2 separate regions of the Homo sapiens genome follow, and region 1 is linked to region 2. The links are contacts of gene promoters, found by promoter capture Hi-C in blood cells and fetal thymus (Javierre and others, 2016). All regions are on one chromosome and are shown on one strand. Each heading gives the region's core, a stretch centred on a gene start or on the middle of the fragment in contact. The rest is flanking DNA. Distances are from core to core; before and after follow the strand shown. Region 1 holds the start of DCUN1D5 (defective in cullin neddylation 1 domain containing 5). Region 2 holds the start of TMEM123 (transmembrane protein 123).

The links. The method cuts DNA at HindIII sites, captures the fragments that hold promoters and counts their contacts. A CHiCAGO score of 5 or more calls a contact.
Region 1: a contact is called between a fragment that was not itself captured here and the fragment with the promoter of TMEM123 in region 2, in 1 of 17 cell types (activated CD4 T cells). The highest score is 5.9, in activated CD4 T cells.

What each region holds. Positions count from the first base shown.
Region 1 is chr11:103,086,889-103,093,227 of GRCh38, forward strand. It overlaps DCUN1D5 (defective in cullin neddylation 1 domain containing 5), which reads right to left and starts at 5,272. Exons shown (of 8, transcript NM_032299.4): 1 at 4,899-5,272; 2 at 2,339-2,430. The coding sequence starts at 4,984. RefSeq lists enhancers at 4,392-5,009, 5,010-5,627, 5,557-5,606, 5,677-5,726 and a silencer at 4,572-4,866. The HindIII fragment of the contact is 1,427 bases long and covers 1,465-2,891 here.
Region 2 is chr11:102,450,666-102,456,910 of GRCh38, forward strand. TMEM123 (transmembrane protein 123) reads right to left here and starts at 2,100. Exons shown (of 5, transcript NM_052932.3): 1 at 1,859-2,100. The coding sequence starts at 1,958. It overlaps TMEM123-DT (TMEM123 divergent transcript), which reads left to right and starts at 2,254. Exons shown (of 2, transcript NR_135053.1): 1 at 2,254-2,384. RefSeq lists enhancers at 1,104-1,153, 1,334-1,623, 2,354-2,463 and a silencer at 1,944-2,233. The HindIII fragment of the contact is 13,483 bases long and covers 1-6,245 here.

The DNA.
Region 1 (6,339 bases), core at 928-3,427, 640 kb after region 2:
AATTTAAATAAAAAATACATAAAAGCATAGTAGTTAAAAGCATGGACTTTAGAATCAGAAGGACCTGGGTTTGAATCCTGGCTCTTGTCACTATATGATCTTGGGCAAATTAATTAATCTAAGTCTCAGTTTTCTCATCTATAAAATGAGGGTATGGCCAAGCACAGCAGCTCATGCCTGTAATCCCACCACTCTGGGAAGCTGAGGCAATTAGATCACTTGAGCCCAGGAGTTGGAGACCAGTTTGGGCAACATCGTGAAACCCCATTTCTTTTTTTCTTTTTCTTTTTTTTTTTTTTTGAGGCAGAGTCTCACTCTGTCACCCAGGCTGGAGTGCAGTGGTGTTATCTCGGCTCACTGTGAGCTCCGCCTCCTGGGTTCACGCCATTCTCCTGCCCCAGCCTCCCAAGTAGCTGGGACTACAGGCGCACACCACCACGCCCGGCTAATTGTTTGTGTTTTTGGTAGAGAGAGTGTTTCACCATGTTAACCAGGATGGTCTCGATCTCCTGACCTCGTGATCTGCCTACCTTGGCCTCCCAAAGTGCTGAGATTACAGACGTGAGCCACCACACCCGGCTGAAACCCCATTTCTACAAAAAATTTAAAAAATTAGCCAGGCGTGGTGGCACATGCCTATATTCCCACCTACTAGAAAGGCTGAGGTGGGAGGATGGCCTGAGCCCAGGAGCTCAAGGCTGCAGTGAGCCATGATCACAGCACTGCGCTCCAGCGTGGGCGACACAGTGAGACCCTGTCTCAAAAAATAAAGTCGTAGTGGGAGGTGGTGATAATACTACCTACTTAATAGAACAGTCACAAGAAAAAATAATATACCTGGGACAATTCCTGGAATAATGCAATTATTATGTTGGCTATTAAAAATGCTAATATAGTAAACAAATGTTTAATTAGAATCTTACACTACCTAGGAAAGTTCCTAGTTGAGGCAAATATTTTCTATTTCTATTGTATCTAGTAACCTTTATAAGTGAAATAAGATGGGTGACCTTTTGATTATATATCATTCATACCAGTAAAACTGGCATTTGGGATAATGGGTCAACATTTTAAATGGAGGTCAGTAAGAAATGAATTCCCTTCATTTAAATTGGGTTAGTGGTTGTCTTGGGATGCCAGTAATAGCATTTATTTCTGGTCTAGAAAGAATCTGTTCTGTTACTAAACAATTTTAAAATTGTACTTTGGGATCACTCAGCTGATTCCAACAGTAAAGTTACTGCCCCCCTTTCAAAATAGTCTCACATTCCATACAATTAGCCTAAACTTATACCTCAAGTTCAAAGTATACTACTTTAGACCTTAATGTGGATGAGCACTAAATATAAGGCAATAGCTACATATACACTTCCATTTTAAACAAACATTTTGAGAATGATAGTGATTAAAAGAAGGAGAAAAAAAAGTGAAGCAGGTTAAAAAAAAGGAAAAGGAAAAGAAAAAAGCTTTAAAATCAATAACTCCAAAAAAACAAAACTATTCTAAGGGGAAAAAAATTCCATATATATTTATGAGATAGTATAAGTGTTCTTTTGCATATATTTGCTTAACTCTTCAGCCCCATCTCTGGCTGGCTTTGACTTTCGCCTCTAAAACACAACCCCATCCTGGGCCTAGGGCTCTTCATCCACCAGTTACAAGATTTAGCTGAGGTTAAGTTAGCTCCTCTAGAAAACTCCCATGACACTTTAAAAGCTGGGTTATATATCCCTCCTATGAACTCTCACAGTGTATCTTCTGAATATAGTATTTATCACACTGTATTAATATCAGTCTATTTATTTTCTTACTATTGCATCTCTAGTAGAAGTGGATGGCTAAATGATAATTGTTAAAAAGTAAATGTGTTGTACAATTATAACTGAGGGGTTTAAATCTTTTACTATGTCTCCCCAAAAGTTTCAGAAAATGTTAGTTCAGAAAAATTTCAAAAAGAGAATATTGAATAGAAATGTTTTATTATGTACTTTGTGTTTTCCACAATATCAAATACAAAAATGTTTTATTGTGTACCTTTTATTTTCCAGAATACTACTTTAGCCAATAGATGTAAATAAATGAATCTTTGTTTACACGTTTTATTAATAGTAAATGAGTTCTTCCCTCCCAGTAAATATATACCGAATATATATTTAAAGAAATATCAGCCTAAATTGGCAACAAATTTTTAGTCTACCCACAATCTTCAGTCCTGACCCTCATCCCAGTACACAGCACTAACACATAGCAGGCCTGTAACAGATAATTTGTTAAATGAATAAGGCAAATAAACTTTTTAAAGCATATGACTAGTATCTTCTTATATTAATTTCATTACCTGCATATTCATAAAACCAAGCCAGGCACTTCTTGCTTGAAAAATGTTCCTCTCCACTTATTAGTCTAGCAGGGGGTTGGGATCTGCAATAGCTTAGAAAACACACAGACGCCTAAGATTTTTATCACATCTCAACTCTTAGAGAAAAACTAAGTTCAAAATTAACAACTTCCATTCACATTAAACAAAGGTTTTTTTTTTCTTCGGTTGGCATTGTTGGAAAAAAACTGAAGTTGTTAAGTAATTGCAACTTGAAACAGTAGTCTATACATAAGAATTATCGGCTAACAAAACCCAAATACCTTTTCACTCAGTATCAAAATCCAAAAATATCAGTAAGTTATTTCCGCACATTTTAAAAGACTACAAAGAAGTTCAACCTAGTAGGTGGGAAAGTATAAATATTTATTATGATTCTATTGATTTGCATAGAAATTCTATTTGTGTGTAATAGATAAATATTTGAAAACAAACTCTTACAAAGTATATTTTGATACTTAATGAATCAATATTTCAAAATAAAATGTTATATTAAGAGTTGTTTTATCACCTAAGCTTAAATAGATTTTTAAAGATAAATGATGACTTAGGACCTAAGGGTATATTAAATTACACAGATTTAAAAAAAACAACAAAAAAACACTAAAAGTTAATAATAGTCCAAATAATTGGGACAAGGCTATTTAATCCTAGGTTCTGTTCATTCTATTTCATTTTTTTCATAAAATCATTTTCATTGTTTTTCATAAAATAACTAAAATTTGGTAAGTTCAAAATGGCCTCTAGAATTTAATGGCCTTCAGAGAAACTTTTTTCAAGGAACTCAAATAATTACCCTACCACAATGATATAGAAATGATAGAACTTCTGTAACTGAGTAAAGTAAGAGTATCATATTTAAAAATTTAAATTGATAGAGCAAAGTATCACCTGAGTTCTAATAATACTGCCTGCTCAGCTATCTTAATGTACTTAACTTAAATAATTTTAATACATTATATACTTAAGATGGCCATGATATAGTACAAAAATGAATAATAATTTGCCTGTATCTTATAAAAATGTGAGCTACTAAAGTAACCATGTCAAATTCTAATGTTGACAAACAAGAGGTGTATGTATCATCGTTCACATTAATAGCCTAATACTCCATAGACTCCTTTACCAAAACACAGTAATGAGGGAAAAAAGTCGACCAATTACAAAAAAGAAGATGCAGACTATGTAAGTCATCTACCTCACAGTTTAAGCAGATCTCTCTTTAAGGAGAGCTCTATCATTATTTCCTTCTTATAATCCTGGCTACAGTCTCCTTTCAATAGTAGCATCTGAAGTTGTCATATCAAGTGCCAACCATTGATGAAAAGGCAGCTAATATGGTTATTTTTTAAAAAAGCATTTCTCAGTCGGGCGAGGTGGCTCACTCCTGTAATCCCAGCACTTTGGGAGGCCGAGGCGGGCGGATCGCGAGGTCAGGAGTTCAAGACCAGCCTAGTCAACATAGTGAAACCCCGTCTCTACTAAAAATACAAAAAATTAGCAGGGCGTGGTGGCGGGCGCCTATAATCCCAGCTACTCAGGAGGCTGAGGCAGGAGAATCGCTTGAACCCGGGAGGCGGAGGTTGCAGTAAGCGGAGATCGCGCCACTGCACTCCAGCCTGGACAACAGTGGAAGACTCCGTCTCAGAAAAACAAAACAAAACAAAAAAACAAAAAAACCATTTCTCAAACCAAAATTGCAGTTTTTTTGTAGCATAAATTTTGCTGTGATGCCTCCATGATATGCTACAAGGGGATCAAAGAGCTACTACTATATAGTTCTGCCTTGTCTTCTTTCTTACCAGTAGGACAGAGTACAAGAGCTCACAAATTATTTAATTTATGCTGAGAGCTAACAGCGTCCTGAATGCTAGAAGACAAAAAGCATGCAGGGCCTTTCCAACTCTGCACACAGGGACTTGGCATAGGTGAGGCACTATACTTCCAGAAAATGGGGCTCCTGCAATTTAAAAGGCCTCCTGCTGGGACCTTCCGGGTTAGGCCACTCCAAATACTAAATATGGAGGCCAATTATAGCATACAAGTTTTCCTTTCTACCATTCCCAAGACAGTTGTCAAGATTCCTTATGTTCTGCTTTCTTCACACTCTACAAAGAAATTCTAGAAGTGACCCTTCTGCGGATATGTACTCACTTCTAAGTCTAGAAAAAGGCAGAGGAGCGATACGGGAGTAGGGGATCGAGGGTCGGTTGTGGGGTGGGGGTGGGGGTGGGGGGAAGCGCAATTTACATATGCATCTGTTCCCCACCCTGCAGGGCACGTAGACTCTTAACGTGGGCGGCTCTTCTAGTCTCTCCATAAACGCCAGCGTGCACACACTCGAACACGAGGTCGGGTCGGGCGCGGAGACTCGCGGTGTTCGGCACCTACAGCCTAGCTCGATCAAAGGGGCCTCACCTGTCTCCAGCCCCAGCCCGGCAGGCCGGGCCCGACTCCTTTTCCTCCAGTTGTCCAGCAAAGGAGGGAGGAGGGAAGCTTGAAGGGTGGGGGGAGATGGTACCTGGAGATTTTACACTTTTTGAGGCCTCCGTCTTCCGCTACTGCTGCTGCCACCCCAGGGGATTTTCTCTTCTTCTTCACCGGCATCTTCCGCCCTCCCCGGCAGGGTGGGCAGGGGAGCCGGGGAAGGGGGTCCCTGTCCGCTGGAAGCCCCTCAGCGCTGGCACCCAGTTCCCAGAGACAGCAGCAAGCGGAGGAGCAGAGTCGCCAGCCCGCACCGGCGCGGCCCAGCCCGGCCGCCGCCCGCTCCCAGGTATCCTCGTCGTCTTTCTCTGACCGGGACAGGGCTGGCTCCTCGCCGGTGGACACTGCGGTTCGTTCTCACCGGGAGGAGATAACGCGGACAGCGCGGCAGCTCCACCAGTCACAGCAAGCAAGAGGCTCAGCCTAACCCGGAGGCGAATCGCTGAGGCCCGGAAGTGACGCAATCGCGGAGCCGGTCCCGGGAAGGGGCGTGGTTCCGGTTAGCCTCTGCCACTCGTAGGTAGGCCAGGCAGAGCGAAGCTGTCTGACCCGTCGACTGCGGCAGTCCGCGGAATTCTTGTATCCTGTCCAGGGTATCCTGACCTTTCTCATGAAGCTTCTACCGCGCTCTGATGCTGGCAGTCACCGCCAAAAAGTGAAACTACTAATACTTTGCAGTTGACGTTAAAAACAACCTGGTAAAGTAGACCAAGTTCCACTTCTGAGCTCTTCCACACGATAACCTCACCTGAAGTGTTCCCACCCCGTAAATGCATTGTCACCCTGTGTCTTGCGTGTTTTTTTTATGGGCCTGTGATCAGCCACCCACTCCCCCTTCTCCCTACCTTTGCATATCACTTTGTCCTGTATTGAAACTTAGCTCTGCCATTATTTCCACAGAGCTCACCTCTCCGATAAGAGACAGTAGGTGACTGCGACTCAGTAGAGAGAAATTTGGGGGACAGTTCTAAGGAACCTCCCCCTAGACCCAAAACACACTGTAATCTATTCATCTCCACTTAGGTGGAAATACTGTTTTTAAATAATGGTTATTGTATGTAAAGACATAGTAGAAAGTCGTTAGTAATTCTGTTGGTAAAATAATCTCTGCAAACCAACTGTGATGGGAGAAGACTAAAAGTCTTTGAGTAATAGTTGAAGTGGTTCCTGTGAAACTACCCTCACAATGGCACCCTAATCTGGTCAATCCGAATATCATATTTCCTTAGTGTTATTAATTGGTTCAGGATGGACACATACTCAGGCCAGGCCAATGAGTGCCAATGACACAAAATTGAACCACCAGAAAGCAATTTTATTTCCTATGGATTTGAACCAGAGAAGGTATGGAGAATGAAGCCAAAACTCAGAAGAGACTAGTATCAAGCAGAAAAATAGAAAAACCAGGATGTGATTATATGATATGAGCCCAAAATCCATGATATGCCCTGGAATTTTCACTTATGTGAAGCAACAAA
Region 2 (6,245 bases), core at 850-3,349:
TTGAAAATTTGGATTTTGATCTGAAACCAAACATGTATTAATTGTTTTACTTGCCATAAATTAGCTTACTTATCTATAAAATGGGGACGATACTGTGAGGATTCAATGGGATGATTTATGGACCTAAATTAGCATAGCGTGGGATGCACAGAATATGTACCCAGTAAAAATCAGCCATTAAGAGTTTTAGTATGATGGCTAAAAATCACTATACTTCGTAATGACATTGTATACAGATTACACTATACATGAAGACTACGATTAACAGTTACTAGCTTTTTTGAGAAATCTTCTATTGTATACCTTTTAGTCTAGTTGCAAGGTGACATTATATAGTCTGTAGAAACAGATTCCACCTCTGGTTGGTTATACTAGTTTATGAATTCAGGGCTCGCCTACTGTAGAGCATTTCAAGTTTTGCAAATGGGACTAACCTCTAGTAAGACATTAAGTAATAAACAGAACAAACAGTGCTAAAATAGGGCAAAAAAAATCTGTGTTATCAGGGCAAAAGAAAGAAAAGCATGGTCACTCACAGTTTCTCTAATCGGTAATTCATTGAAACAGTAAGGCTTATCTTCACAAACACAGCAACAAATTTTTAAAAATGGAGACCTCACCTCATGAGATAATTGGTATAAAATTAGGACCAAGATACACGATGGACATGATTTTACCACTTTTTTTCTTAAATGATCTCAAAATTAGGTCTGCGAAGCCAGTTTGTCACACGCACAATTAAGCAAACAAAAAAACTTCAGCAAAACAAAGAAAAATTGTTAATTCACCCAGGTTATTCCAGAAAAAGCAAGTGTTGTGCCTGAACCTTCCAGATTTACAAACTGCCTTTTTCTTTTGCTGGATAAAACGAACCTAAGGCTAACATATACAGTGGATGGATAGAACTTAAAACCATGAAAACCTTGGGTTACTTAACTTATCCTAGTTTACTGACCATTACCTAGGGACCTGACTTCTCTAACAGTTGACAAAGGAAAACAGTATTTACACAACAAATCCCAACTTCCTGGTTTCATCCAAAAAGGGCTGTTTGAAGTCTCCAAAGGGCCAAGGGCCTAAAACGAAACAAATTCCGCCCTACACAGAAAAGCAAAGTCAACATCATCCTGTTACGACCTTACTAGCGACGACAAGGGCCACCGGCGACCGTGCAGCTGTGCCCTTAACGCTGCGCAGCTGCCGCGCGCCTCGGCCGGGTGTTTATGGCACACGAGGGGTGGAGAGCGCCCCGCCATGGGGGCGGCCGCCTCAACTACCGCGAGGGCGGGGCGCGCTCCCCAAAAGCTCCCAACTAGCTCCAAGAGCCCCGAAGTCTAACTTCGAGCGTCAGGGGGACCTAAAGATTGTAATTCATCTGGATAATACTGCATAATATTAGACGCTGAAATGCCTGGGGGACGCTTGAAAAGCTCCCCGACTAACTGGGAGACGTTTCCGCGGGCCTAGGTAGACATATTTTTCAACTCAGCTAATCTTGTTTACAAACGGAAGCCTTAGAAACTCTAACCTCGGCAAACATTAACTTCAGGGAAAGGCTGTAAAAACCAACTTGCGGTAACTCAACAGGTTATGCGCACCCGTCCCGGCCTGCGACCGCCGCATCCAAAAAGCGAGAGGGGAAGCACCAGGCAATTTCCTCAGCAGGCGGCCCCGGGGCCAGCGGGTGACTGGTCCAAACCTCAGTTTCCCCCACCCCGCCCGGTCACCTCTGGGTCCGCCCCGAGCGTTCGGCCAGACACACGCGGAACTTTCTGTACCAGAGCCCAACTTGGGAACCCAAGCCTCGGCAGCGCGCTGCCTCCCACGAACGGGGCTGACGACCCCCGCAGCCACTTACCCGCCATGGCTGCGCTTTCATGGGCGGCCCCCAGCAGCGCTAGCACCTGCAGCGTCCCCAGGAGCAGCGCGGCCCAAGCACCTCGCGCGCCGAGTCCCATTGTTCCGAGGGCAGGATGCGGCAGCCTCGTGGGCTCCCAGCCGAGGTGGCGGCGGCGAGAGCGGCTCCTCTGCGCAGCCGGCGCCGGCTCCGCTTCCCCTTCGGCCGCGCACGTTTCCCCTCCCGCCGCTTGCCCCCCGAATGACCAAATAGGGCGCAGGAGCGGGGCCTGGAGGGGGCGTCGCGTGCGCAGCCGGGGCGGCGGGGCCGGGCTGGGTGGCGCGGGGGCGGGCTCGGGGTTCTGGGCGTGGCGACTCGGCTCGCGGCCTCCCTCGCAGGCGCGCGCTTGGGAACCCCAGAAACCGCGAGCCGTTTCCTTTCTCTTCGGAAATGGCAGTTTTGTTGTCCTGGATGAAGGCGAGCGCCGCTGCCTCCCTGAATGCTGAGCACGCTGGCTTCGCGGTGCCCGGAAGGAAGCCTTTGAAGAGTAGTTTTGCGGGCAGGGAGGGGACAGGGGTGCGTGCGACTCAGAGTGAGAGGGAGGAGTTGCAGGGCAAAGGCGGGAGGAGGGGGAGATTCTGGAGAGGAACTTGAGGGGATGGGATTCACTCTAAGGAGTCCTGGGCGGTCGGAGCTTTCCCCTCGCGTGACCCAGCCTAAGGGGGAAGTGGAGAAAAACAGCTCGACAGATTTGTTGCTTAAATTCAAACGTAAAACACCTACGATCTTCTTATCCCAGTTGTACTTCATCTTCTCCACGGGTTCCCTGTATCTCTGATTAAGACACGAGATTAGTGGAGTGGGCGGGTGGGGGCGCGCGCAGGAGTTGGTAGCAACTCTCAGTGAAATACAGTAGAGCCATGGAAAGCGGGGGCTGCATTAATCCAACCAGCCTTTTCTCTCCTTGTGCCCTGCTGTCCCAGTTCAGATGAAATGGCCAGTTTTGAACAGTTTTTGGCTGAGTTCCTTTTAAACCCTTGGAGCCAATGCTAATCACTTGTCTTGACTTGAAGTGCTTGTAAAGTCTGCATTTTCATCGTGCTCAGAACTCTGAAGTGACATAGCTACCTGTGGCTAATGCATGAGAATAACAAAGGCTGAGTCCTGGCTTGGGTGGGAACCCTCAGCTGAAGTAGAAGACTGAAGGATCCAAGGAACCTAAAATCACAGTGAATCCCCACCTGCAAAGGTCTTAATGTTGCAGATCTTTGGCACCTGAGCCAGATTTCATCACATAAAGGCCACATTGCAGTTAACTTTTGAAAACTGTGTTATGAGAGGTAGAACTTTCTCATGTCAGGCAAATCCATCATTACAGAGGTCTGACTGGTCCTAGAGATTAACTGAGACAATCTGTCCTAAATTTACAGAGACTTCCATCTGTGGATTCAGTCAGCCAACCTGCAAATGTTTCCCCTGCAGCTTATCATGGACAAAAAGCAAGCATTGCACATTTCGATTTTGGTTATTCTATTTAACTGGGGAATCTGGTTTAGGAATAAACCGTTCTGGTGACTACCCCATTATCCAAGCATTTCCCAATCTAGGCCCAACCTGTCTTTCCAGCCTTGGTTCTGTTGCCCATGGAGAAGGGTGCTTTCTGGTTCCTGGCATTTGCATACGTTGTTCTTTCCTTCTGGAATTCTCTTCACCAACCCACAGCTAATACTTCCTTTAAGGCTCAGTGTACTTATAGCCTGGGAATCTGGGGTGGAATAAGAGGTCTGGATGTTTATATCCCCACCACATTCATGTGTTGAAACCTAATCCTCAAGGTGATGATAATAAGATGTGGGACTTGGGTGGGCATAGTGGCTCATGCCTGTAATCCCAGCACTTTGGGAGGCTGAGAAGGGTAGATCGTTTGAGGTCAGGAGTTGAAGACCAGCCTGACCAACATGGTGAAACCCCGCCTCTACTAAAAATACAATTATCTGGGCGTGGTGGGACGTGCCTATAATCCCAGCTACTCGGGAGGCTCCCGAGTAGCTGGGAGGCTGAGGCACAGGAATCGCTTGAACCTGGGAGGTGGAGGTTACAGTGAGCCGAGATCACGCCACTGCACTCCAGCCTGGGAGACAGAGTGAGACTTGTCTCAAGAGAAAAAAAAAAAGATGTGAGGCTTTCCGGAGGTGATTTGGTTGCTAATGAATGGGATTAGTGCCCTTGTAAAGGAGGCCTGAGGGAACTTGTTTCACCCTTCTGTACTGTGAGGGCACAGCAGGAAGACGCCATCTGTGAGGCAGAGGGCCCTCACCAGACACCAAATCTGTTGAGGCCTTGCTCTGTCAACTTCCCAGCCTCCAGAACTGGGACAAATAGATTTCTATTGTTTATAAATTTGTTGATAAAGTATCCCATTTAAGGTATTTGTGTTATAGCAGCAGAAACGGACTAAGACAGTGTGGAGAACAAGATATTTATTTACTTGGACAGTTTTTCCCGGGTACTGACCTGTTGGAGACACCTTCAGATCTCTGCTATCTGATTGCCACACCACAGTGAGTGGGTGTGCCCATCTTTGATACTAACAGCTCAGTACTGTGGATTGCCCATGTTTTTTCTAGTCTGAGGAGAGGGGAAAGAGCAAGGAACTGTGTGGCCTTCCTGCTCTCTTGGAAACTCTATTGGGAGGACTAGCCTCCCAGAGAAGTTGTAGCCCCAGTTATGCCTCAGGTTCAGCCCCCATCACTGTACCAACATTTTACTTTGGTGATGTGAAAAGTTAAAAGAACAGCCCTTGGCCATTTAGGTCTCTCCTCCTTTCCAGCCTCATGTCTGGATCCCTCTCTGTAACCTCACTAGAGCACTCAAAGTTTTCCAAATATGCTGGGGCCTTCCACGCCCCTGTGTTCTTGCTCCTGTTCTTCCCTTTGCCCAAGATGCCCTCTAACCTTTTCTCTTAGGCAGTTTCTACTCCTCTCTCAAGATTCCCTTCATATCCCATCTCCCCACCCATCTGGGCAGATTTTAGTGCTTGGATCCCTCTGCTCATACATTGATCAACTGGGTCTCTAACCTTGTTCTCTATAAAATATTCTCCACATAGCAGCCAGTGTGATTCTTTTAAAACATGTCAGATTATGCCATTCCCTTGCCACTTAACAAAGTCTGAAACCATGGCCTGCAAGGCCTACGTGACATGGTCCATGGCTGCCCTTACCACCTCATTTTCTACCCTCTCCTTCACTTCTCAGCTCCAGCCTCCTTGCAGCACTTTAGAAATGTCAAGTCAGTTTCCATCCCGGAGCCTCTGTACTTGCTGCTTCCTCACATCCTTCAACACTGCTCATCTGAGAAAAGCCCTTCTTGAATACCCTAGTTTACAGCTCTGTTTCTTTTTGTGGCATCCAGTGCTATCCATCATTATGTTCATTTATGTGTTTATTTTTTGTCTGTCCTACAAAAATACAAGTTCCATGAGAATAAAAAAGTGAATGCATATTTTGGCCAAGTGCCTATCGCATATTGCTACTGGATTCATGTCATACGAATCACTTCCTTTTTTTTTTTTTTTTTGAGACAGAGTCTTGCTCTGTCGCCCGGGATGGAGTGCAGGGGCACAATGTCACCTCACTGCAACCTCCGCCTCCCAAGTTCACGCGATTCTCGTGCCTCAGCCTCCTGAGTAGCTGGGACTACAGGCATGTGCCACCATGCCTTGCTAACTTTTGTATTTTTAGTAGAGATGGGGTTTCCCATGTTGGCCAGGCTGTTTTTGAACTCCTGAAGTAAAGTGATCCACCTGCCTTGGCCTTTCAAAGTGTTGGGATTACAGGTGTGAGCGACCGCACCCAGCCTACTTTCTTTTATTTAGAACTCAGTTTCCCAGCCTCCATTACAACTGGGTTCAAGAATATAACCTAGGCTTTGCCAGTCAGGCTCATCCATATCAAACTTAAATTCAGGTATAAGCAACCAGAGGAAAGTGGCTCATTATGGAGCTCCTTGCCTTGCTGGTATGAATTGCCCTAATAGCCAGGCGGCTGCCTTAGTTGGCAGCACTAGCAGTGACGTTAGTTTCTCAGTGGTTGCAACATGGAGTTTCTGATGTAATAGTGGTATTGACAGAGAGCTGCAATGGTGATAGTTTTCTTGCTGGGCTAGTTCTGCAGTGGTTTTGTGCATTATTCCCAGAGGAATGGCCCCAGTCCTGAATCTCTACACCTTCCAACACACCTGAGAACTACCCAATATCTTCAATATAATCCTTTTCTGCTATATCAGCAAGAGTCAGCAGCTTTTCTTTCGTACAGCTAAGGATCCTGACTTTGTATGATTGTGGGTCTTTTTCCCCACAGTGGGCTACAGTCTCCATTAGATGATTCGCCAACTATTTATTGAGTGC